Regions from separate parts of the Homo sapiens genome. Here all the other regions are linked to region 1. The links are contacts of gene promoters, found by promoter capture Hi-C in blood cells and fetal thymus (Javierre and others, 2016). All regions are on one chromosome and are shown on one strand. The core of a region is centred on a gene start or on the middle of the fragment in contact, and the rest is flanking DNA. Distances in the headings are between cores, read along the strand shown. Region 1 holds the start of POLQ (DNA polymerase theta). Region 2 overlaps MIX23 (mitochondrial matrix import factor 23). Region 3 has its middle 19 kb from the start of CSTA. Region 4 has its middle 9.1 kb from the start of CSTA. Region 5 overlaps CASR (calcium sensing receptor). Region 6 overlaps CASR (calcium sensing receptor). Region 7 overlaps CASR (calcium sensing receptor).

Region 1 (3,151 bases), core at 271-2,770:
TAGACTGACTGACTCCAGAGTTGCACTGTTAACCCTTAAGTTACACTGCATCTGAGAAAGTTCTTTCTTGGCTGCAATCTAGGGGTCTCTCTCTCTTTTTTTTTTTTTTCTTTTTTTGAGACGGAGTCTTTCTTTGTCGCACAGGTTGGAGTGCAGTGGTGCGATCTCGGCTCACTACAACCACCGCCTCCCAGGTTCAAGCAATTCTCCCGCCTCAGCCTCCAGAGTAGCTGGGATTACAGGCACCCGCCATCATACCCGGCTAATTTTTTGTATTTTTGTAGAGACGGGGTTTCACCATGTTGGCCAGGCTGGTCTAGAGCTCCTGACCTCAGGTGATGCACTCATCTCGGCCTCCCAAAGTGCTGGGATTACAGGCGTGAGCCACCACGGCCGGCGAGATCTCTTTTATTTCTTTAATAGTACTCTTCATTTCTGCCCAAGCATATGGCACACTTCATTAACTGACTTGTTTAATGTCTGCCTTATTCTCTAGACTCTTTCTCTTTGAGAGCAGGAACCATTTTATGCCATTTCACTGCCATTTACCCAGTGGCTAGCTTACAGTAGATACTCAGTAAATAGTTGTTGATTGCGTAAAAGGCCAAGAGAAAAATGTTTCATTCACGGAGTAATGTCGCCATCTCGTGGAACTTTAGAATATTGTCATTTAAATCAAAAAAATGTTTTCACGGAAGGAATTGATGGTTCGAATGCTATTTTCCAGATTGTATTCGAGTGTTTTTTTTTTTTTTAATTGGACTGGACCTTTTGAGATTTTTAGTGCTCTAGAACTGCACAGCCTCTTCAGGTCAGGCTTAGGGCCTACTAGTTTTGCTTGGTGAAATGAATTATGCAACTAGGTAATGAATGGTCACCGTTTTACGTTCAGAACTCGTTCGCTTCTACCTTTACAAAAGGGACAACACAGATGCATTACTAAGCTCTTGGCTCATAACGATCCCTGGGGTATATTCAGAGCCCCTTCCTCGCGGCGTTCATATAGTGTCTCAGGGGTCTGTCAGCCAGCAATCCCCAATTCCTCATTACATATTCCTCACAATGCATGCTGGCTAAAATGGAAATTGTGTTCAGAAATAGCCCTGCCCTACCATCATATACTAGGAGAAAGGAGGAAATTATGCTCTATTAGAAACCCTAGGCTATCTTGCATAATGCTTCTCAATCTGAAATAATTTTTTACAGAATACCAATACGTTAAGAAGAGCTACTTCCCTGATCTACCTATTATGGGCAGCCCATTTTATGAAGTTAGCATGGCCTTCCTATTCAAACCAGAAATGGACAAAAGGAGAAGGAAGGCTTTTAGGTCAGTATGGTTATAACTGTAGATTCTGTATTCTTCCTCTTTAATCTATCTCTCATATTAACCAACCAGGAGGTTGGAGGCCGGAAGTCTTAGACGCCAGCGAGAGCCGCTCCTTCCCCACGAGTCTATGGCTTTCGGGTTACTTAAGCCACGGAGAACTCTATGGTTCCGGGGCGGGCCGGGAGGTTTGAGTTTGAAGACTGGCGGGAAGATGTCCGCAGCTGTTGCCAGGCCAGGGTTCTCCCGAGAGGGAGGACGCTGGGACTGTGGCTTGCCCTGATCGGCCGAGAAGAGTTTGCCATGAATCTTCTGCGTCGGAGTGGGAAACGGCGGCGTTCAGAATCAGGCTCAGATTCGTTCTCGGGAAGCGGCGGTGACAGCAGTGCCAGCCCCCAGTTCCTCTCCGGGTCCGTGCTGAGCCCGCCGCCCGGCCTTGGTCGCTGCCTGAAGGCCGCAGCTGCAGGTGCTCCAGGAACCCGGGAGGCCGCGGGCAACGGGGGCAGCTCCGCCGGGCCATGGGTCGGGAGGTGTCCTCACCCCACGGGACTTGCTTCGTTGCATACCCCATTGGGCTTCTACTCCCCTTCTCTGTGACTGGGGCCTGGTGTGGCAGGTCACTTTCTGTTCAGACATACGCGTGTTTTCAGTGATCGCCTGGTATTAATGTTCACGTGGCTTCTGGATCTTTCGACCTTTAGAGAAACAACTTCCTAGTTAGCTTCATCCCATCATCTGTTGGGCGGCTCGTTCCTGGTAGTACCCAGTACTCCTTACAGACCCTTAAGACAGGATTGTTGGGCCTGGAGTACGGCACAGGCTGTTCGGCGTCCAGGGGAAGGCTGGAAGGGATTCGTAATGAGATTGGTTGGGTGTCCCGTGGATGTCGACCCAGTTTTTTAAAATCGTTAGTTGTGCAGTCGTCATGGAACTAAAACTTACTATAAATAGAAACTCACCTAACTTAGCTTTGTAATGCTTGCATATTGCCCTCCTCCCCCAACTACACCCGTAATTCCAACACTCTTTATCTACTGTGTATTGCACGCTTTTTTGTTCGTTTGAGGCTTTTAAGGAATTTTTATTATATGCAGTAAATAACAATTTATTACTTTTCTATACATGGTCAATTTCTCATAAGATTCTTGAAGTCAGGATGTGCTTTAAAGAGCTTCATTTCAACACATAGGAATTCCAACACACGGTGAAGGGCTAACTGTAAAACTCATATATTAGAAGTAAATTAAATTTTAATTTTTTCTTTTTCCTAAAAGGAGAATGCAAGCCTACAGTTCCTGACTACGAAAGAGACAAGCTACTATTGGCAAACTGGGGACTTCCTAAAGCAGTTCTGGAAAAATACCACAGTTTTGGTGTAAAAAAGATGTTTGAATGGCAGGCAGAGTGCCTTTTGCTTGGACAAGTCCTGGAAGGAAAGAATTTAGTTTATTCAGGTATCCAAATTTATGTAAACTAATTACTATTTTTAAGATATGAATGTAAAGAATACTCTATTGAGGTAGTTGTGGTTCGTTTAAAAGGTGAATGAGGCAGTGCTTTATAACTAGAGAAAATCGTACAATATGTGTGAAAAGTGGAGTTTTATTTATATTTAAATTACAAAAGTTTTATTGTTTGACTGGGGTGGAGGGAAGCAAGAAAAATGACAATTTAAAGAGTGGGCAATTCTGCCTGCCATTATTCTCAACAAACATATATCCCAGTGAGTGTGCAATGGGAGATGTAAATCTGCCCTTCCCCTGTTTGATCCTGGTTGCTTTTCAGGGTATGAGCATTATCATTACATGTTTGTTAATTTACCTT
Region 2 (3,151 bases), core at 169-2,668, 820 kb before region 1:
TTTTGGAAATAGCTCCAGTTTCATTGTGTAGAAATCTGCTGAAATGTAATATAGACTATTTAACTTCAGGATATTACCCTCGTTAGCCATAAAAATATAGTATGATTTAAATATAACCAGATTTACTTGTACCTCATTATAATTTATTTCCCTACTGTGTAAAAGTTGCTAGGGATCTTTGGCTTTTTCTTGGACATGACTTTTTCCCATTTCCTCCCCTATCCCTGCAGTGTTTTTACTTTTAAGAAAATAGCAAGTACCTACCTAGGGATGTGTCAGAGGAAGCCTTATTTTCCCAAATCAACTATAATGTAGATAGGGTGTAGACTTCAGAATACAGTTAATGCAGCAGAACTGTTTCTTTACAGCACTTGTATGTGACGTGTCAAGGAAACAATAGAAAAATACAGCATATTTTATTATGTGGGATTTATTGCTGTCTTTCTTTTGAGGGGACTCTTAGGGGGTAACTTTTTATCTTGTATAATTTCAAACTTACCAAAAAGTTGTAAGAATAGTGTAAGGAACTCCCATGTGCCCTTTACCTATATTCACTTATTGTTTATATGTTGCCCCACCTGCTTTACAGTTCATTCTCTTCACCCTCCCTCTCTCCTTCTCTTCACCCTCCCTCTCTCCTTCTCTTCATCCTTCCCTGCCTTCCTCCCTCTCCCTGTCTCCCCACACACCTGTATGCATAAATACAGTTTTTTCATGAACCATTTTGAGACTATGTTATACACATTGTACCACTTTACCCTTAAACTCATTAGTTATTTCTAAGAACAGGGACTTTTCCTACAGGACCAGTGTACAATTATCAAAATCATGGTTTTTTTTTTGTTTTTTGAGATGGGGTCTCACTCTGTCACCTAGGCTGGAGTGCAGTGTTGCAATCTCAGCTTACTGCAACCTCTGGTTCTGGGGCTCAAGCAATCCTGCCTCAGCCTCCCCAGTAGCTGGGACTACGGGCGCGAACCACCACACCCAGCTTATTTTTTGTATTTTGGGTAGAGATGGAGTCTCACCATGTTACACGGGTTTATCTCAAACTCCTGAGCTCAAAGTGATCCACCTTCCTCAGCCTCCCAAAGTGCTAGGATTATAGGTGTGAGCCATCACACCTGACTTCATGTTTGTATTTTAAGATGGCATAATAGGTGACTTACGGATCCTTGTGGGATTGAGTCATGCTTTTCATACTGCACAGTCATGAAGTTTGCCCTTTGTTTAGTAGATGTAGCTGAACTTTGAAAAGGGGACCTCGTCATCTATTGAAAACTATTAGTAGAAAAGAAAAGAAACCTCTTTCCTTGTAGCTGGCTGCACACAAGGTGAGTAGGCCAGGCTGCTGCACTTTTTCGATCATTCCGCCAATTCTGGATGTCTCACTGGATCCAGGACTCAGCCACTGTCTTTGCTGCTCTCTTTGTTCATGACTACTGCGTCAGGTCTGTATTCCATACCTGCTCATGCCACAGGCACTGGTGGATCCCTTGGACAGTGACCTTATGCAGTGATGTTGATCTTACTCCCCTTGCTGTTCATGAAGGCATATAGATTATTTATTTATTTATTTATTTATTTATTTATTTATTTATTTATTTTTGAGATGGAGTCTCGCACTATCGCCTGGGCTGGAGTGCAGTGGTGCAATCTTGGCTCACTGAAACTTCCGCCTCCCAGGTTCAAGAGATTCTCCTGCCTCAGCCTCCCTAGTAGCTGGGGTTACAGGTGCCTGCCACCACGTCCAGCTAATTTTTTTTTGTATTTTTAGTAGAGACAGGGTTTCACCATGTTGGCCAGACTGGTCTCGAACTCCTGACCTTGTGATCTGCCCGTCTCAGCTTCCCAAAGTGCTGGGATTACAGGCATGAGCCACCGTGTCCAGCCGGCATATAGATAATTTATATAAAACTGGTGAAAGTCTAGTAATTTTGGAGTTTGTATTTCAACGCCCTTGAAGGTGTTGACAAAGGAAACTGCAGGGCAAAGGCTGTTAAATTGGAAACTGAAAAGTCACTGTTTGCAGATCAAGTCAAACAACAGAGTGACTCATTAGTGGAGAGCAAAGTTCAAAACTCTACTGAGTGTTTGGGAATGATTGTGACACACAATTTGCTCAGCCTTGAGATCTGCCCTTGTGTCTTTAGGGCCCAGATAGAATCACCAGGATGACCACTGCAAGGAGGGTTTAGAAACCAATCAGTGAGTTGCATGAGGTTTGCTTTCTAGCTTGATAACATATAGGGTTGGGGGTAACCATGGGGTAGTACATAAGCAAATAAGGAAATGTGAATTTTTTTTTTCAATTTTCAAGTTTGCTATGAAGATTATGGAATCAGAGAGAGCTCTTGGAGATGGTACAGCTCTACCTCTTCATTTTCTATCTGAGGAAAAAGACTCAGAGATACTTGAGATACTAACTGACACCCCCAAAGCCACAAGCTAGTAAGTGGTAGAACTGGGACTTTAACCCATCTCTTCTGACCCTGCATTCAGTCAGTTTCTTTAAGTTGTGACTAATAGTCAGATACTTTAGTGAGTATATTTCATTTATAGACAGATGCCAGTCAAAAAATCCCCACTAGTTTACCTGAATATTTAACTCAAAAAAAGCACCTTCGTTGCTGGACCTCTATAACTGCTGTCACATGTTAGTGGCCTTAAGTTTACCTGTTGAAGACCTACAGTCTCAAAGACAACTGTCTCAAAGGTGACAGTTTGTTGGTAGCACTGATAAAATTGTATTAGAAATTGGCTGTAATATCTGCAATGTTGTAGAATTTTAAAAAATAATCCAAAGGCAGACAGCTCTGAGGAAATAAATCCCACCTACCTTGGTGGCTTTGTAACCTTGTGTATTAATTGTTCTGAAAAGTCTGATTTTGAATCTGTAAAATGGAGTTGATACCTAATAACTTCTTATTTCTGGGGGGCATGTGCGGGGAGGATTCAAGGATGTAAGTAAGAGCTAGCATATTGGCTGCTACAAAGTAGCAGTTTCTTTCCTTTATGAGTCTCTGGGACTCCATATTTGTTGCATTAATCTTCTTTGTCATATCACCAACCAGTGGTTTCTAGCTTTTGTTTCACTACTGCTTAAGGGCAGGGTGTTGTGACAGGGGAGGATTCCCTGTCTCAGTGTCAG
Region 3 (3,151 bases), core at 452-2,951, 800 kb before region 1:
TCAATGTACAAAAATCAATTGTATTTCTATAAACTTGCAATACATAAGCCAAAAAATCTCATTTATAATAGCATCAATAAGAACAAAATATTTGGGAATGAATTTAACAAAAAAAGTACAAAATATATACTCTGAAAACTAAAAACAATTGTTGAAAGAAATACAGATAGAAATAATTGGGAAAACATCTTATGTTCATGGATCAGAGGCTTAATATTGTTAAGATGGCAGTATTACCCAAACTTATCTACAGATTCAGCATAATCTCTATGAAAATCCTAGCTGACTTCTTTGTAGAAATTTATAAGCTGATTCTAAAATTCATGTGGAAGTTCAAAGAATTCAGAAGAGCCAAAAAACTCTTGAAAAGGAAGAGCAAAGTTGGAAGGACTCACACTTCACAATTGTAAAACTTATTACAAGGCAACAGTAATCAAAAAAGTGTAGTACTGACAAAAGGATAGATATATAGATTAATGGAATAAAATTGAGAGTTGAGAAATTAACTCGTGCCTGTGATCAACTGATTTTCAACAAGGGTGCCAAGATAATTCGATGGGGTAAAGAAATCTTTTCAACCAATGGTGCTAAGATAACTAGATAGCCACATGCAAAAGAATGAAGTTGGACACTTACCTCACACCATATACAAAAATTAACTCAAAAGGGACAAACGACCTAAATGTAAGAGCTAAAGCTACATATCACTTAGAAGAAAACAGGGGAGTAAATCACTATGAGTTTGGATTTGGCAAAGGATCCTTAGTTATGATACCAAGAGCATGAGGAGCAAAAAGATAAATAGATAATTTGGACTTCATTAAAATTAAAAACTTTTGTGCTTCAGAGAATGCCATCAAGAGATTGAAAAGATAACCACAAAATGAGAAGAAAGTATTTGCAAATCATATATCAGATAAGGGGCCTGTATTCAGAATATATGCTGTGGTTTGAATATTTGACTCCTTCAAAACTGATGTTGAAACTTAATCCCCAATGTGGTACTATTGAGAGGTGGGGCCCTTAAAAGATGATGGAATAATAAGGGCTCTGCCCTCATGAATGGCTTAATCCATTCATGGATTAATGGATTAATGGGTTATCATGGGAGTGGGGCGGGTGGCTTTGTAAGAAGAGGAAGAGAGACCTGATCTATCATGCTCAGCCCCCTCGCCATGTGATGATGCTTGTGCTGCCTCAGGACAGGACTCTGCAGAGAGTCGCCACCTGCAAGAAGGCTCTCACCAGATGTGGTCCCTCAACTTTGCACTTCTTTTTTTTTGAGACAGGGTTTCACACTTGTTGCCCAGGCTGGAGTGCAATGGCACGATCTTAGCTCACTGCAACCTCTGCCTCCTGGGTTCAAGTGATTCTCCTGCCTCAGCCTCCCAAATAGCTGGGATTACAGGCATGCACCACCACTCCTGGCTAATTTTTTGTATTTAGTAGAGATGGAATTTCACCATGTTAGTCAAACTGGTCTCAAACTCCTGACCTCAGGTGATCCACCCACCTCGGCCTCCCAAAGTGCTGGGATTACAGGCATGTGCCACTGTGCCTGGCCCTCAGCTTTGGACTTCTCAGCCTCCATAACTGTAATAAATAAACTCATTTTCTTTATAAATTACCCAGTTTCAGATATTCTGTTATAAGCAACAGAAAATGGACTAAGACAGGTAATTATGTTTTTTGTTATTATTTTTAAATGGCAAAAACTACACTAACTTTTGCATCAGCCTAATACAAATGGCTAATCATCTCATGAAAAGATGTTCAATAGCATTAGTCATCAGGGAAATACAAATCAAAACCACAATGAGCTATTATTTCACATCCACTAAGATGGCTAACCTTAAAAAAATTCAGATAATAACAAGTGTGGGTGAGGATATGGAGAAAATGGAACTCTCATCCACTGTTGGTGAGAATGTAAAATGGTGTGACCACTTCAGAAAACCGTCTGTAAGTTTCTCAAACAATTAAACATAGAGTTAGTTACCGTATGAACCAGCAATTCTACTCCTAGGTATATACCCAAGAGAAATGAAAACCTATGTACACACAAAACCTTGTACACAAATATTTATAGTAGCAGTGTTCCTGATAGTCAAAAGGTGAAAGCAACTTAAATATCTGTCAACTGATTAGTTAATAAACAACGTGTGATATATTGATAAAATGGAATATTTGTCCATAAAAAGGAATAAAATACTGAGACGTGCTACAACACTGATGAATTTTGAAAACTATGTTAAGTGAAGGAAGGCAGTTACAAAGGACCACCACATATTATATAATTCCACATGTATGAATGTCCAGACCAGGCAAATCTAGACAGTAAATTAGTTGTTGCTTAGGAGTTGAGTTGTTGCTTATGTGTGGAGGAGGCTGGGGAAGTGACAGCTAACAGGTATGAGACTTCTTTTTGAGGTGACGAAAATGTTCTAAAATTTTGTGAGGTCTGCACGCATTTGTGAATGTGGTATAAAACTATTCACTTGTACACTTTAAATGGGTAAGTTGTATGTTTCAATTTATGTCTCAATGAAGGTATTAAATAAGAGGAAAATGGCAATTAAATGGAGCAAGTTATTTTGGATTGGATCTTTTTTTTGGGATGGGGTCTTGCTATGTTGCCCAGGCTGGCATGCAGTGGCTACTCATGGGCACGATCATTGCACACCATAGCCTTGAACTCCTGGCCTCTAGAGGTCCTCCTGCCTCTGCCACCTGAGTAGCTAGGACTACAGGTGCTTGCCACCTCACCTGGCTTGGATCTTTTTGTAATAAATGACATTATTGGGACAATTGGGGTAATTTGAATGGTGTCTGGGGATTAGATGCTACCAGTGTATCAGTGTTAATTTCTTAATTGTTTAATTTTATTTTTAATTTTTTTTTTTTAGAGACACGGTCTCTCTTTGTCACCCAGGCTGGAGTGCAGTGGCATGAGTATAGCTCACTGTAGCCTCGAATTCCTGGGCTTAAGCCATCCCCCCACGTCAGCCTCCCAAGTAGCTAGGACTACAGGTGCATACCACCATGCCCAGCTAATTTCTAATTTCTTTTTGTAGAGACATGGTCTCGCTATGTTGCCCAGGTTTGTCTTAAATTCCTGTCCTCAAGCAATCCTGCTGCCTTGGCCTACCAA
Region 4 (3,151 bases), core at 305-2,804, 770 kb before region 1:
CCCATTGCTCAGAACGGCTCTTCAGAGTCTCGTCGGTTGTTTCAAAGCTCAACTCTCAGATGAAGAGCGTCTGCAGCTGTTTGGGTTCTTTAGGAGACTCTGACTTAGACATGACAGCAGTGGGAAGAGAGACTTTATGCTTCTTCGGCGGTGTCCATTGGCATAAAAGACTTAGCTAATGGATGAATCTGTGTATATAATTCTTCTGTTGGTAAAGCAGTTCCAAGCTTAATGAATTTATGGATTGCTGAAGCCAAAACCATCAGGCTCTCAGATTTCCATCCTTTCCCCAATCCCCATAGATGTATCTGTCCTCTTCTACTTTTCCTATGTCATCTATTTAAATGGACTCTTACTGAGTCTAAAGGATATGAAAAAAAAAATAGAATGAACTCTTAGAAAAGACTGCAAATCTTTTGCAAAACGGTACACATAAAAAAATCTTATGGGTATCTACATTTTGACGGAGTAAGTGCTTTAAGATGAAGAAATAGAATGGTGAAATTTTATGGATGAGGTGAACAAATACATTTTGGGAAGTAAGGTGGTTTATAGCATCTATGCATCACATCAATTAGATGATCACCTCTCAGTTTACCTGTAAAACTGGTGTTTCTTTGATTTAAAAACTTGTTCTGATTTGTTAAACCACAAGAGTCTATTCTACTCCCATACTTCTCTAGGAACCTGCCTGTATCCATTTCAACAGCCTGAAGTTGGCAAGGGTGGCAGTTCAGAAGTTGCTGCACAAGGCAGGAGGAAGTTTTATAATATGGGAAAAATAATGTTGGAGTAAATAATTCTAGAGAAGTGTTGAGAACTTAACAAAAATGTATCTAAACATAACTATTTATATTTACTTACATTTTCTCTAGATTATAAACTCTTTTTAAATATACAGTTCATCTAGGAGCAGGGGCTCATACCTATAATCCCAGCACTTTAGGGGGCCAGAGTGGCAGGGTTGCTTGAGGGCAGGAGTTTGTGACCAGCCTGGGCAACTTGGTGAGACCCTGTCTCTACAAAAAACAAACAAAAAAAGTAAGCCGGTCATGGTGGTGCATACCTGTAAGTCCCAGCTCTGCAGGAGGCTGAGGCGGGAGGATCGTTTGAGCCCAAGAGTTCAAGGTTACAGTGAGCTATGATCACACCACTGCACTGCAGCCTGGGCAACAGAGTGAGACCCTGTCTCAAATACGTATACACAGTCTGCATTAAATTTTCTTTAATGATTATCTTTAATTGAGCCGATAGTTATTTCTCAAAAAGTATAATGTACATATGAATTTACATCTCTTAGCTAACCACATACTAATTATTGGGGTCATGGTATTCTAGTCACTTGGAGTTTCTTGGCCATCCTTGACTTCTCTGGCTATAGAAAATTCCTAAAAGTACAGGAAAAACTTTTTTATTGTAAAAAGTGACAAAAATTGTAGCCAAGACAAGGCAAATTTAAAAAACTCATTCTGGCCACAGAGTGCTCTGGCTTTCCACTGGGGCTGGTTGTCAGTAACAGCCAGGGAGTGAGGCCATAAGGAGATCCCCAAAAGGTGAGTTCTGAGCCTCCGTGAGTTAGAGGTTAGTACTTTGCAGTGAATTAGGGATGGAGATGCTTTAGGCGAAAGGAAGGCTGGGATTGGAATGTGAGGGGATTATTTAACCCATATGTGCTTCTACGGTCCTGGACTTGGCTAACTTCAATGAGGCTTATGCAGATGCACTGAGAATGAAGATGGAAGATGGGATGAACATAACTAAAGCCAACAAGGCTGGGGGTGTGCCTGCCCTAGGGCTCCCCTCTGGGTGCCAGGACATAGAGGGTGAGCGGTGGGAGTGAAACGGGAAGAGTTCCCTTGTCCCCCTCACAGGGCGTGTGACAGGGGGAGTGGCTCACTTCTTCAGTGCCCAGCTGCTCAAACCTCTAGGGGGAGCATGCAGAAGGGTAGGTTGTGGGGCTCCGACCCCACAGCAGCATCTAGGGGTGAATGCTTACAGCTCCTGAAGCCCCAGTGGGTGTGTGTTACAGAGTGCTCTTTTAGCTTTGCTGTCTGTAGGTGGCTTGTGTCAATCAGCTCTATTAGACCCTCTGCCTTATAAGGACAGAGGGCGTTCTGTATCCCGGGGTTTTTGCCTTGGTGTACCAGAAGAACCAGATCACATGTGGGCTTGGAGAATGAGTGTAAGGATTTTTATTGAGTGGTAGCTCTCAGCGAGGTAGATGGGAAGGCCAGAAGGGGGCTGGAGTGGGAAGGTGGTTTTCCCCTGCAATCGGGCTTCCGGGCAGCTGGGCTCTTCTCCGACCACCCCAGCCAAACTCTGCATTGTTCCACCAGTCGATGGCCTGCCGAAATCTGTCAGTGCCTGTGGGTGTGCTCTTACGCGGGTGTGTTCCTCTCAATTTCCAGCCGCTTGTGTCCTCAACCATTGGTGTGTTCCTCTTGATGTCCAGCTGCTTGTGTGTGTGCCCGCTAGGATCTTGGAGTTTTTATAGGCACAAGATAGGGGTATGGCAGCCCAGGGTGGTCGTGGGAAATGCAATATTTGGGCATGAGAACAGAAATGCCCATCCTCACCAAGGTCTGTGGGCACAGGTCTGGGGCTGGATCCCCAGCGAGGGACTACGCCTTTCCCTTCCCAGCACTTTCCCGCCCCACTTGCCCCACTCTGTATCAGGAGCATAGTTTGCAGGGCTGTAGGAACAAAGAGCTACCCAGCATCTTTTCAGAGTAAAATTTTCAGCCACCCGCAACTTTTCTCACTTCAAAGTGAGTGTAGCAGCAATCATTTCCCTCTCTCTTCTCTTCAGGACAAAGAAACCAGTGGTCTCAACAATCCCAGTGGCTTTTGGGTGCTCTCAGAACAATGTAGAGAAGCTTGTATGGGCTCAGGGGTCATTCAAACCTCTGCTCAGTAGCCTGGATTGTGAGTTGAGTTGCGTTTTTGCCCTTTAGGGGAGAAAGAAGTTGTTGTAGAGGCCTACCCACACTGAATACTCATCAAATGAACCAGCAATACTGGAGTTGCCTCAGTTTTTATGACTAATAGTAAATTCCAGGGTGGAGTAATGTTATACAATCAATGTTGCTGTGCCTGTCAATATAGAGAAAATTCTGCCCTGCCAGAAATATACACGGATCATAGGCTCTCC
Region 5 (3,151 bases), core at 353-2,852, 750 kb before region 1:
ATTATGTCCAAATAAAAGCTTAAACAAATGAACAAACCAAAAACATGACCATAATATTGTCCTATCTGAGAACTCAAGTGACAGATTTTTCTTGTTTTACGATACATTACGCTCATGGAAAGAAATTAAGGAACAAAAGCTCAGAAAAATATTACAAAGAAAATACAAATCACTAATAATTCTAACACCCAGACATAATCACTATTAAATCATTATGCATTTTCTCCAGGCTACTAAATAGACACTTGTTGTACTGGACCCGTATTAACTGCAGTAGGGATGGCACCAGGTTCAAGAGGCTGAAGAAGAGACCTGGAGCCAGCAAAGCAGGCACAGGGTTTCCTGAAGGGGACTTAAATACAGGGCAGTTCAGTGGTGGTGGACTGGATGGGAGAACCTCAACCTCTTGTAAAAAGCATGCAGTTCGCATAGCATGTTCACTTAGCACTCTCCCCCCAGCAACCTCCATCTGGAAACCGTCATTTCTTGTTAACTTATTACTATCAGGTCGGGTTACCATACAACACCAACACACACAAAGACACACATACAAACATATGTGTGTTATTTAAAAAGACAAATAGTACTAATTGGCTTATAATAAAACACACTTGTTGCCACACTCCCCTGTAGCACCCTCCCCTGCAGTGCAAGTTCCCGCTGTCTTTCCATCTCCTCTGCCAGCAGGTTCTCCCTCATAGTAAAATGCCAGGTGTAGTTCAGCCTCCAGCACAGCATCTTGTGGATCTACCACAGCTGTGGAGATAAAAATAAATCATATTTTGCTTATATTTTTCTTAAGAGAGTGTGTTTTTCATGTTGTGTTTGATCTTAAAAATCTTTGTTTTGGGGTGGTAGACACTGCGGACGGGCTTGTTCAGTAGCCACTCTGACCCTCTTCTAGCAGGTCTTCCTCCACTATAGAGGCTGGGAAACAAATGCTACATTTCCAGACTCCTTGACAGCCAGGGCTCTGCATGTGGCTGATATGAGACTTGGAAAGTTGGTGTGAGTGGGGCCAAGCACAGGCAGAGGGATTTGGTTCCTCCAGCTTCAGTGAAGGTTCCAGTGTCCTGTTCTCTGTGTCTTGGTGCTAAGTGGAAGGCAGGGGAGGTTATGAAGCTTTTGCCAGAACACCCTCATAGGGGGATTAGGTATTTCTCCTGGGTGAATTGATCCTGATTGTATAGCAACTAAATTTGGATCACTGAGCCTCCCAAAATGTTATAAGCTTCCTAATACCATATAACAAGTACCTTTCTGCTTGAACTAGTTAGAGTGAATTCTATTGCCTCCAACTAAGAAACCTGACAGAAGAAATCATTGCATTCCATGGTACTTCCTGAGATTTCAAAAGCAAATTCTCTAAGCTTCAGTCACCCATGGTTTTAATAATTATTTATATTTTGCCTATATTCCTGAAGTTCCTTTCAAATCACTTGTTTTATTTGGCAAACAACCATAGTTGGTAATTATGGCAGGTAATAGTCTATCTACTTTTCTTTTTTTGAGACAAAGTCTGGCTCTGTTGCCCAGGCTGGAGTGCAGTGGCTACATCTTGCTTCATTGCAACCTCTGCCTCCTGGACCCAAGGGAGCCTTCCACCTCAGCCTCCCAAGTAGCTGGGATTACAGGTGCATGCCATCATGCCCAGCTAATTTTTTGTATTTTTTGTACAGATGAAGTTTCACCATGTTGCCCAGGCTTGTCTCACACTCCTGACCTCAAATGATCCTCCTGCCTTGGCCTCCTAAAGTGCTGGGATTACAGGCATGAGCTACCATGCCTGGCCTATGTACTTTTCATAGTGGAAAGTGAGACAAAGAAAGCTTAAGTGCCTCATCCAAAGACGTGTAACTTATCTGTCATACTGCCTAGAATCCCCCTCTTTTCCACTATTCTATGTCCTCGGCCCGTTCAGAAATTTAAAAGTCCCATGAAACTCTTGGGAGCTAATTAGAGCTCTGGAAAAATTTGTAGGAGGGGTGACTGACCCAATATGGTGATTCCTATCTAATATGATATGCTTATCTGTTTAAAATTTGGTTGCATGTTTATTTTAAATTCTTTTCTTTATTTTCCTGTTATAATTTTGTGCTTAATATACAAAACTTGGGAAAAATTTAGAAAATCCTAAAGAAGCAGAAACAATTATCCATTAGTCCACTACCAAGCAATCTTCATTTATAATGCTCATCATCACTGGCCATCAGAGAAATGCAAATCAAAACCACAATGAGATACCATCTCACACCAGTTAGAATGGCGATCATTAAAAAGTCAGGAAACAACAGGTGCTGGAGAGGATGTGGAGAAATAGGAACACTTTTACACTGTTGGTGGGACTGTAAACTAGTTCAACCATTGTGGAAGTCAGTGTGGCGATTCCTCAGGGATCTAGAACTAGAAATACCATTTGACCCAGCCATCCCATTACTGGGTATATACCCAAAGGATTAGAAATCATGCTGCTATAAAGACACATGCACACATATGTTTATTGTGGCACTATTCACAATAGCAAAGACTTGGAACCAACCCAAATGTCCAACAACGATAGACTGGATTAAGAAAATGTGGCACATATACACCATGGAATACTATGCAGCCATAAAAAATGAGGAGTTCGTGTCCTTTGTAGGGACATGGATGAAGCTGGAAACCATCATTCTCAGCAAACTAATACAAGGACAAAAAACCAAACACCACGTATTCTCACTCATAGGTGGGAATCGAACAATGAGATCACATGGACACAGGAAGGGGAACATCACACACCAGGGCCTATTGTGGGGTGGGGGGAGGGGGGAGGGATAGCATTAGGAGATATACCTAATGGTAAATGACGAGTTAATGGGTACAGCACACCAACATGGCACATGTATACATATGTAACAAACCTGCACGTTGTGCACATGTACCCTAAAACTTAAAGTATAATAAAAAAAAAAGAATAAAGAAAAATTTGGAGGAGGGGTGACTGACCCAGTATGGTGATTCCTATCTAATATGATATACTTATCTGTTTAAAATTTGGTTGCATGTTTATTTTAAATTCTTTTCTTTATTTTCCTGTTATAATTTTGTGCTTAATGTACAAAACTTGGGAAAAATTTAGAACATCCTAAAGAAGCAGAAACAATTATCCATT
Region 6 (3,151 bases), core at 379-2,878, 720 kb before region 1:
ATCCAAATGTTCATCAATTGGGTAAACAGATAAATAAAATGTGGTATATCCACACAATGGGATACTATTTGGCTGTAAAAAGGAATGAAGTACTGATACATGTTACAATATGGAAGAAGCAGCCAGTCACAAAAGATCATATGTTTTATGATTTTATTTATATGAAATATCCAGGAAAGTCCAAATGTATAGAAGCAGAAAGTAGATCAGTGTTTGTCTAAGACTGGGGCTTTGGGGGCCTAGGGAGTGACAGTTAGAGGATATGAGGTTGCTTTTTGATGTGGTGAAAATGTTCTAAAATTGACTGTGGTTATGGTTGCATAACTGTGAATGTATTAAAAGCCACTTAATTGTATACTTTAAATGACTGAATTGTATGGCATGTGAATTACATCTTATAAAGCTGTTGCAAAAAAGAAGGCATGGAAAAGGACTTTAAAAATCCAAATATGAATTAATTAGTGAAACCGACATTTGTAGTTGGCAGGATCCTTGATAACAAGGTAGCCTCTAGGATACTTGGTGTAGCGAGTTGAGTAATGAGACATGGCAAGTCCAACTTCGGATGTGGCAGGGAGATAAAGAGTAGGCAGGAGGGAAGAGATGGCAATGTAAACATCTTATCTGGAGAAGGAAGCACTCTGGAATCTTTGTGGCTAGGAATGTTGTACCCACACTTCATTAGACCAAACTTCTCTAAAGCAGGAACTGCCTTATTTCCTTCTGTATCTCCAGTGGTTTGTAGAGGGCCTAGATTTTAGTGGATACTCAAACCTTGTCTTTTGAGTGCATAATTAATAGAATAGATATTAAACCTGTAGGTGTCCAGCATGACTATGTGGACAAGTCATGCCCATGATGAGGTTTTTATCAGTCTGAGGATAAATGAGAAAAATAAGGTCAATAGGGCATTCGTATTAGCTGAAAGAAGTAGGCAGAAAATCAATACAAATATAAAAGACTTAAAAGACTTGGACAGTACTATCAACCAACTTGATCTAATTGATATTTACAGAACAGTCATCCCAACAACAGAATATACATTATTTTCAAGAACACAAAATATTTATAAAGATAAACCATATTCTGGATTATAAAGCAAGTTTCAATAAATTTAAAAATATTAAAATCAAACAAAATATGTTGACTCCAATGGAATTAAATTAAAAACAAATAACAGAAAAATGTTTGGAAAAATCACTGGAAACTTGGAAACCAAATAACACACTTCTAAACCTGAGAGCCAAAGAAGAAATCAAAAGGAAAGTTGGAACGTATTTTAAATTGAATTAAAATGAAAACACAGCATATCAAAATTTGAGGGATGCAGCTAATAAAATATTTATAGTGAAATTTATAGCAGTAAATGTCTATATTATAAGAAAAGAAAGGTTTTTAAATCAATGACTTCAGTTTCCAAATAAGTAACTACAAAAAGAAGAGCAAATTAAACTGAAATAAATCAGAAGACAGGAGATGACAAAGATCAGAATAGAAATAAATGAAACAGACAACAAAAATATAGAGAAAAATCACTAAAGCCAAAAGCTGATTCTTTGAGAAGATTAATAAAGTTGATGGATCTCTAGCCAGACTGATCAGAAAAAAGGGAGAAGATGCATATTTACAATATGATAAATTCGAGAAGTGACAACACTACAGATGCTGCAGACATTATAATTATAGTCTGAGAACATTGTAAACAATATTATAAATAAACTTATGCCAGTAAATTTGGCAAATTAGACGATGTGGACAAAGTCTTTGAAAGACAAACTATCAAAGCTGACTCATATATACCTAAATAGCATTCTATCCATTAAATAAATTGAATTTTCAGTTCAAAATTTTCCCACAGGCCATGGACAGTGGTTCATGCCTGTAATCCCAGCACTTTGGGAAGCCGAGGTGGGTGGATCACTTGAGGCCAGGAGTTAGAGACGAGCCTGGTCGACATGGTGAAACCCCATCTCTACTAAACATACAAAAATTAGCTGGTGGTGGTGGTGCATGCCTGTAATCCCAGCTACTCGGGAGGCTGAGGCAGAAGAATCTCTTGAACCTGGGAGGCGGAGGTTGCAGTGAGCCAAGATCATGCCACTTTACTCCATCCTGGGTGACAGAGCAAGACTCCATCTCAAAACAAAACAAAACAATCCCACAAAGAAAACCAACTAAAGGTGGCTTCACTGATGAGTGCTGCCAAAGATTTAAGGAAGAATTAATACCAATTCTACAAAAGTCTTACAGAACATCAAAAAAGAAGTCAATACTGCCAAACTCATTCTGAGGTCATCATTACCCAGACACCAAAACCAGACAAAGACATTACAAGAAAATAAAACTTTAGACCAATAGTCCTCATGAACATAGAAGCAAAATTTCTTAACCAAATTTTAGTAAATCAAACACACAAATACATGTACAAAAAGGAATATACATTATGACCAAGTAGGATTAATCCCAGGAACGAAAGGTTGGTTTGATGGTCAACTACAATAACATACTACAAAAGAAAAACCACATGATTTTCTGAATAGATACAGAAAAAGCACTGATGACATCCAACCTCCATTCCTGATAAAAGCTCTCGGCAATATAGGAATAAAAGGGAACTTTCTCAACTCTATAAAGGGCATCTATGAAAGTTAACATCATACTCAGTGGTAAAAGACTGAATGCTTTCCCCCTGATCAGATGCAGACAGTAATGTCTGTCCTCACTATATCTATACAAGATTATACTGGGAGTTCTAACCAGTTCAATTGGGCTGAATCAGGCCGAGTAAGATTGAAAATATGATCTAAATTCTAAACTGAAATAAACAAAAACAAGCAAACAAATAAAAAGGCCAAAATAATTTTTTTAAAGTTGCTTCTTTTCTTCTTTTAGGCATATTTATTAGTACAAATTAGGCTAATAAATTGTTCCTGATAAAGATTCTTAGGAGGCCTACATCAGTTAAAAATACAAGAATAATTTAAAATTTAATGGTTTCTGGATCTTTATGCCTCAATAACCCTGTTTATACTCTTAAAATCCTTACCAAAACATGCTTTCCTTCATGTAATTTACTTTGTTAACAATGCAGAGCTAAGTTCCAGCCCCAGTTTATGAAGTCAGCATTACTGTGGTTTCTTGTGTGAGAGTT
Region 7 (3,151 bases), core at 228-2,727, 710 kb before region 1:
CTGGATCCCTTCTGGAAGTTGCAAGTCTCTCTAGAAGATGGGTCAAGATTTGGAGCACAGTCAGTCTCCAGTGTAGATTAGGGGAGGTGATAAACAGTCCCAACCATATTCTGCAGAAGTCAGATCCCATTTAAAGAGATGTGCCTCACCCTGGAGACTATATTCTAAAAGGGTCGCAGTAAATTAGGGGGCATCAGATGGAGGACAACCAGGATGATGACGGGTCTGGAAAGCATATCATGGAGAAAATGATGATAAAACAGACTATGTGGCTTGGAGAAGAAAATATTTGATGAGACATATTAGCTCTCTTCAAGTGGCCACAGAGAGAATCTATTGAGAGAGTGAGATGCATTCTTGGCAGGGTGGATGGGGGGTGGGGAGGGTGGCAAGGGGGGATAACCTTCCTATGCAAAAGACTTTTTGATGGCAGTAGTTCCAAAATGCTATGGACTACATTTTACAGTTTGAAGATGCCTGGGTCATGCTGACTACTGTGGTTTCTTTCAACTTAAATGCCTTAAAAAAAAGAAAGAAAAAAAAGAAAAAGAGTGAGGCAGCCAGCACTCAGGTATTACTATCCATTGGAGCATGTAAGGTCAATGGGGGATTTTACTACTCAGGTTTGCAAGACCTGCAATAAATTTCCTTCTAGGTACTTAGTCTTCCATTAAGCAACACTGCTGCCAGGTGAACGATGATAACTTGGTCACCAAATGACCACCAGGTGCTTTAACAGGCCATGCATGGATTTTCTACTTAATATCATTGACATTTTATTTAAAAAGAAGTCTTCAGGAAAAAAAAGGCAGGTTGTGGGGGCAATAAGCTTCAGCATGATTACCAATCAATCACTATTCTTGAAAAGATAGGACAAAGTTTGAAAAAATTATTTTGCGTTTGGTGCAGCTTTTCTCCAACCACTCAGAAGAGAAGAGATTGGCAGATTAGGCCCCTCTTCTTACCTGATACATTCCACAGACTCCGGCCTTGATTTGAGATCTTGATCTTTAGCTGCTACTCCAAAATGAATAGGAAAGAGCCCCCCAAGGATAATGTCCCCCTTCTTTTGGGCTCGCTGGTCTGGCCCGTAGGCAGAGGTGTGCCAGGTGAGTGCCAAGAGGACCCAGCAGCAGCTATAAAATGCCATGGTTCTGCCGTCTCTCCAGGGCAAGGGATGAGACAGCTAGGAGTTTGGAGGCTCCCAGAAGTTTCTCCCTTGGAGCAGTTCACTCCCTGCAGTGGGGACACATGTCTACAGATTGATTAATAAAATAATAGAAGACGTGGTGTTTGAATCTCCATTTCTGCCTTCCTCAATCCAGACTTGTAATGTGGGTGGTCCTTGAGTCTTTGGAAGCCACATCATGCAGAGGCCTCCTGTGATGCCTTCTAAAAGAAAAGAAAGACAAAATGGATTCAGCTAAACCTCAATCCCATCTTGTGATGACCACTGCAACTAAGGTGGCTCAGAATTTCCATTTAGAGGGGCCTAGGGGTGGCAGACTGAAAAGGCCTGGCTTGGAGTCACATTTTTATAGCACTTCATGTAAAATACAGGAAACGTCAATTGCCCATATTGGGGAAGAACTATGTTAGGTTATGAGAGGTCAAATTTTAAAGAGGCCCTTGATAACCTAAGACCTCTGCTGGTGCTGATGCTGGATTTTAATCCATTCATTTTCCTGTGTGAATGAGGCATAAATTTGGCCTATTAGTAGCAGAAGCTCCTTTTGTTATAATAATATTAGAGATATTTTATTCAGCATGTAAGTTCTTATAGAAAATATAGAATGAAGCTGGGTGCAATGGCTCACGCCTGTAATCCTAGCACTATGGGGAGCTGAGGCAGGTGGATAACCTGAGGTCAGGAGTTCAAGATCAGCTTGACCAACATGGTGAAACCCTGTCTGTACTAAAAAAATACAAAATTAGCTGGATGTGGTGGCATACGCCTGTAATCCCAGCTACTTGGGAGGCTGCGGCAGGAGAATTGCTTGAATCTGGGAGGTGGAGGTTGCAGTGAGCCGAGATCGTGCCATTGCACTCCAGACTGGGCAACAAGAGTGAAACTCTGTCTCAGAAAAAAAGAAAGAAAATAGAGAATGAGTCATATTTAAGCTTAAATCTGACTTTGAACCAAACAAAAATGTTGGAAAAGACCACTTATTCTTTATTTTTTATGATAGTCTCCTTTTTTTGTGCAGGTCTCTGGTTTCAGTTTGTAATATGACACCCTGTAAGCCTTTTAAGAACAGTTCTTATACGAAATTCAGAGAAATCATGGATTAGATTGTGTTTTACAAAGATCAACAGCTGGATATAGGAGAAAGCCCTCCTGCTATACTATGATTAGTAGAGTAGGAACTCTGCTCTTCTCACTCCGCACCCTATCTCACTCACCCTGTGAGTCAATTACCAATTACAGGTTGATGGGGCTAAATATCCAGCCTGTCTTGAGGCTCAGGGCCAAGCACTGGACTGCCAACTGGACACTGCCACATGAATGTTCCACAGATTCTTTGAATTTAACAGGCCCTAAACTTACCTCCCTACTGGACTTGTTTCTCCCTCACTGTTTTCTATCTTAGAAGATTACATGCCATCCACAGAGACACAAAATAAGGAGCCATCTTTTCCTCCTTTCTGTTCTCATCATTGTCCTTCATATTTACACAATCCCTAAGCCCTGTAGATTCTACTTCTTAATTCTCTCTGGAATCCATTTACTCCTCGCCATTTCCAAGATTATTTTTAGTCCACCATCATTTATTTCTTTTTCTTTTTCTTTGTCCCTCTCCCCTCCCCTCCCCGCCTTCTTTCTTTCTCTCTCTCTCTTTCCCTTCCTTCCTTCCCTCCCTCCCTTCTTTTCTTTTCTTTCTTTTCTTTTTTTTCTTTCTTTCTTTCTTTCTTTCTTTCTTTCTTTCTTTTTCCTTCCTTCCTTCCTTCCTTCCTTCCTTCCTTCCTTCCTTCCTTCTTTCTTTCTTTCTTTCTTCTTTCTTTCTCTCTCTTTCTTTCTCTCTTCCTTTTTCTCTTTCTTTCTGACAGAATCTGGCTCTGTCGCCCAGCCTGGAATGCAGTGGCGCCATCACAGCTCACTACAACCTCAACCTCCCAGACTCAAGCAGTCCTCTCACCTCTGCCTCTTGAG

Evidence for each region. Contacts are between HindIII fragments. The CHiCAGO score rates a contact against its expected background, and 5 or more counts as called.
Region 2: a fragment that was not itself captured here is called in contact with the fragment with the promoter of POLQ in region 1 in 8 of 17 cell types (erythroblasts, naive CD8 T cells, total CD4 T cells and 5 more); the score reaches 7.8 in erythroblasts.
Region 3: a contact is called between a fragment that was not itself captured here and the fragment with the promoter of POLQ in region 1, in 1 of 17 cell types (neutrophils). The highest score is 5.1, in neutrophils.
Region 4: a fragment that was not itself captured here is called in contact with the fragment with the promoter of POLQ in region 1 in 4 of 17 cell types (naive CD8 T cells, neutrophils, total CD8 T cells and 1 more); the score reaches 6.2 in naive CD8 T cells.
Region 5: a fragment that was not itself captured here is called in contact with the fragment with the promoter of POLQ in region 1 in 8 of 17 cell types (naive CD4 T cells, naive CD8 T cells, total CD4 T cells and 5 more); the score reaches 11.5 in naive CD4 T cells.
Region 6: a contact is called between a fragment that was not itself captured here and the fragment with the promoter of POLQ in region 1, in 1 of 17 cell types (neutrophils). The highest score is 6.5, in neutrophils.
Region 7: a fragment that was not itself captured here is called in contact with the fragment with the promoter of POLQ in region 1 in 4 of 17 cell types (naive B cells, total B cells, neutrophils and 1 more); the score reaches 6.4 in naive B cells.

Annotation. Positions count from the first base shown.
Region 1 is chr3:121,544,357-121,547,507 of GRCh38, reverse strand. It overlaps POLQ (DNA polymerase theta), which reads left to right and starts at 1,520. Exons shown (of 30, transcript NM_199420.4): 1 at 1,520-1,793; 2 at 2,602-2,781. The coding sequence starts at 1,631. RefSeq lists enhancers at 1,372-1,666, 1,558-1,787. The HindIII fragment of the contact is 11,524 bases long and covers 1-3,151 here.
Region 2 is chr3:122,364,636-122,367,786 of GRCh38, reverse strand. All of the region lies in intron 3 of MIX23 (mitochondrial matrix import factor 23), which reads left to right. Among named protein-coding and RNA genes, the nearest start is that of MIX23, 17 kb to the left of the region's middle. RefSeq lists a cis regulatory region at 2,065-2,078 and an enhancer at 1,999-2,143. The HindIII fragment of the contact is 6,376 bases long and covers 1-3,151 here.
Region 3 is chr3:122,342,540-122,345,690 of GRCh38, reverse strand. No RefSeq gene overlaps it. Among named protein-coding and RNA genes, the nearest start is that of CSTA, 19 kb to the right of the region's middle. The HindIII fragment of the contact is 9,676 bases long and covers 1-3,151 here.
Region 4 is chr3:122,314,570-122,317,720 of GRCh38, reverse strand. It overlaps the pseudogene HNRNPA1P23. Among named protein-coding and RNA genes, the nearest start is that of CSTA, 9.1 kb to the left of the region's middle. The HindIII fragment of the contact is 2,649 bases long and covers 230-2,878 here.
Region 5 is chr3:122,290,532-122,293,682 of GRCh38, reverse strand. CASR (calcium sensing receptor) reads right to left here. Exons shown (of 7, transcript NM_000388.4): 7 at 2,054-3,151. Among named protein-coding and RNA genes, the nearest start is that of CSTA, 33 kb to the left of the region's middle. The HindIII fragment of the contact is 459 bases long and covers 1,373-1,831 here.
Region 6 is chr3:122,268,848-122,271,998 of GRCh38, reverse strand. All of the region lies in intron 4 of CASR (calcium sensing receptor), which reads right to left. Among named protein-coding and RNA genes, the nearest start is that of CSTA, 55 kb to the left of the region's middle. The HindIII fragment of the contact is 9,372 bases long and covers 1-3,151 here.
Region 7 is chr3:122,252,189-122,255,339 of GRCh38, reverse strand. CASR (calcium sensing receptor) reads right to left here. Exons shown (of 7, transcript NM_000388.4): 2 at 966-1,392. The coding sequence starts at 1,150. Among named protein-coding and RNA genes, the nearest start is that of CASR, 70 kb to the right of the region's middle. The HindIII fragment of the contact is 1,292 bases long and covers 832-2,123 here.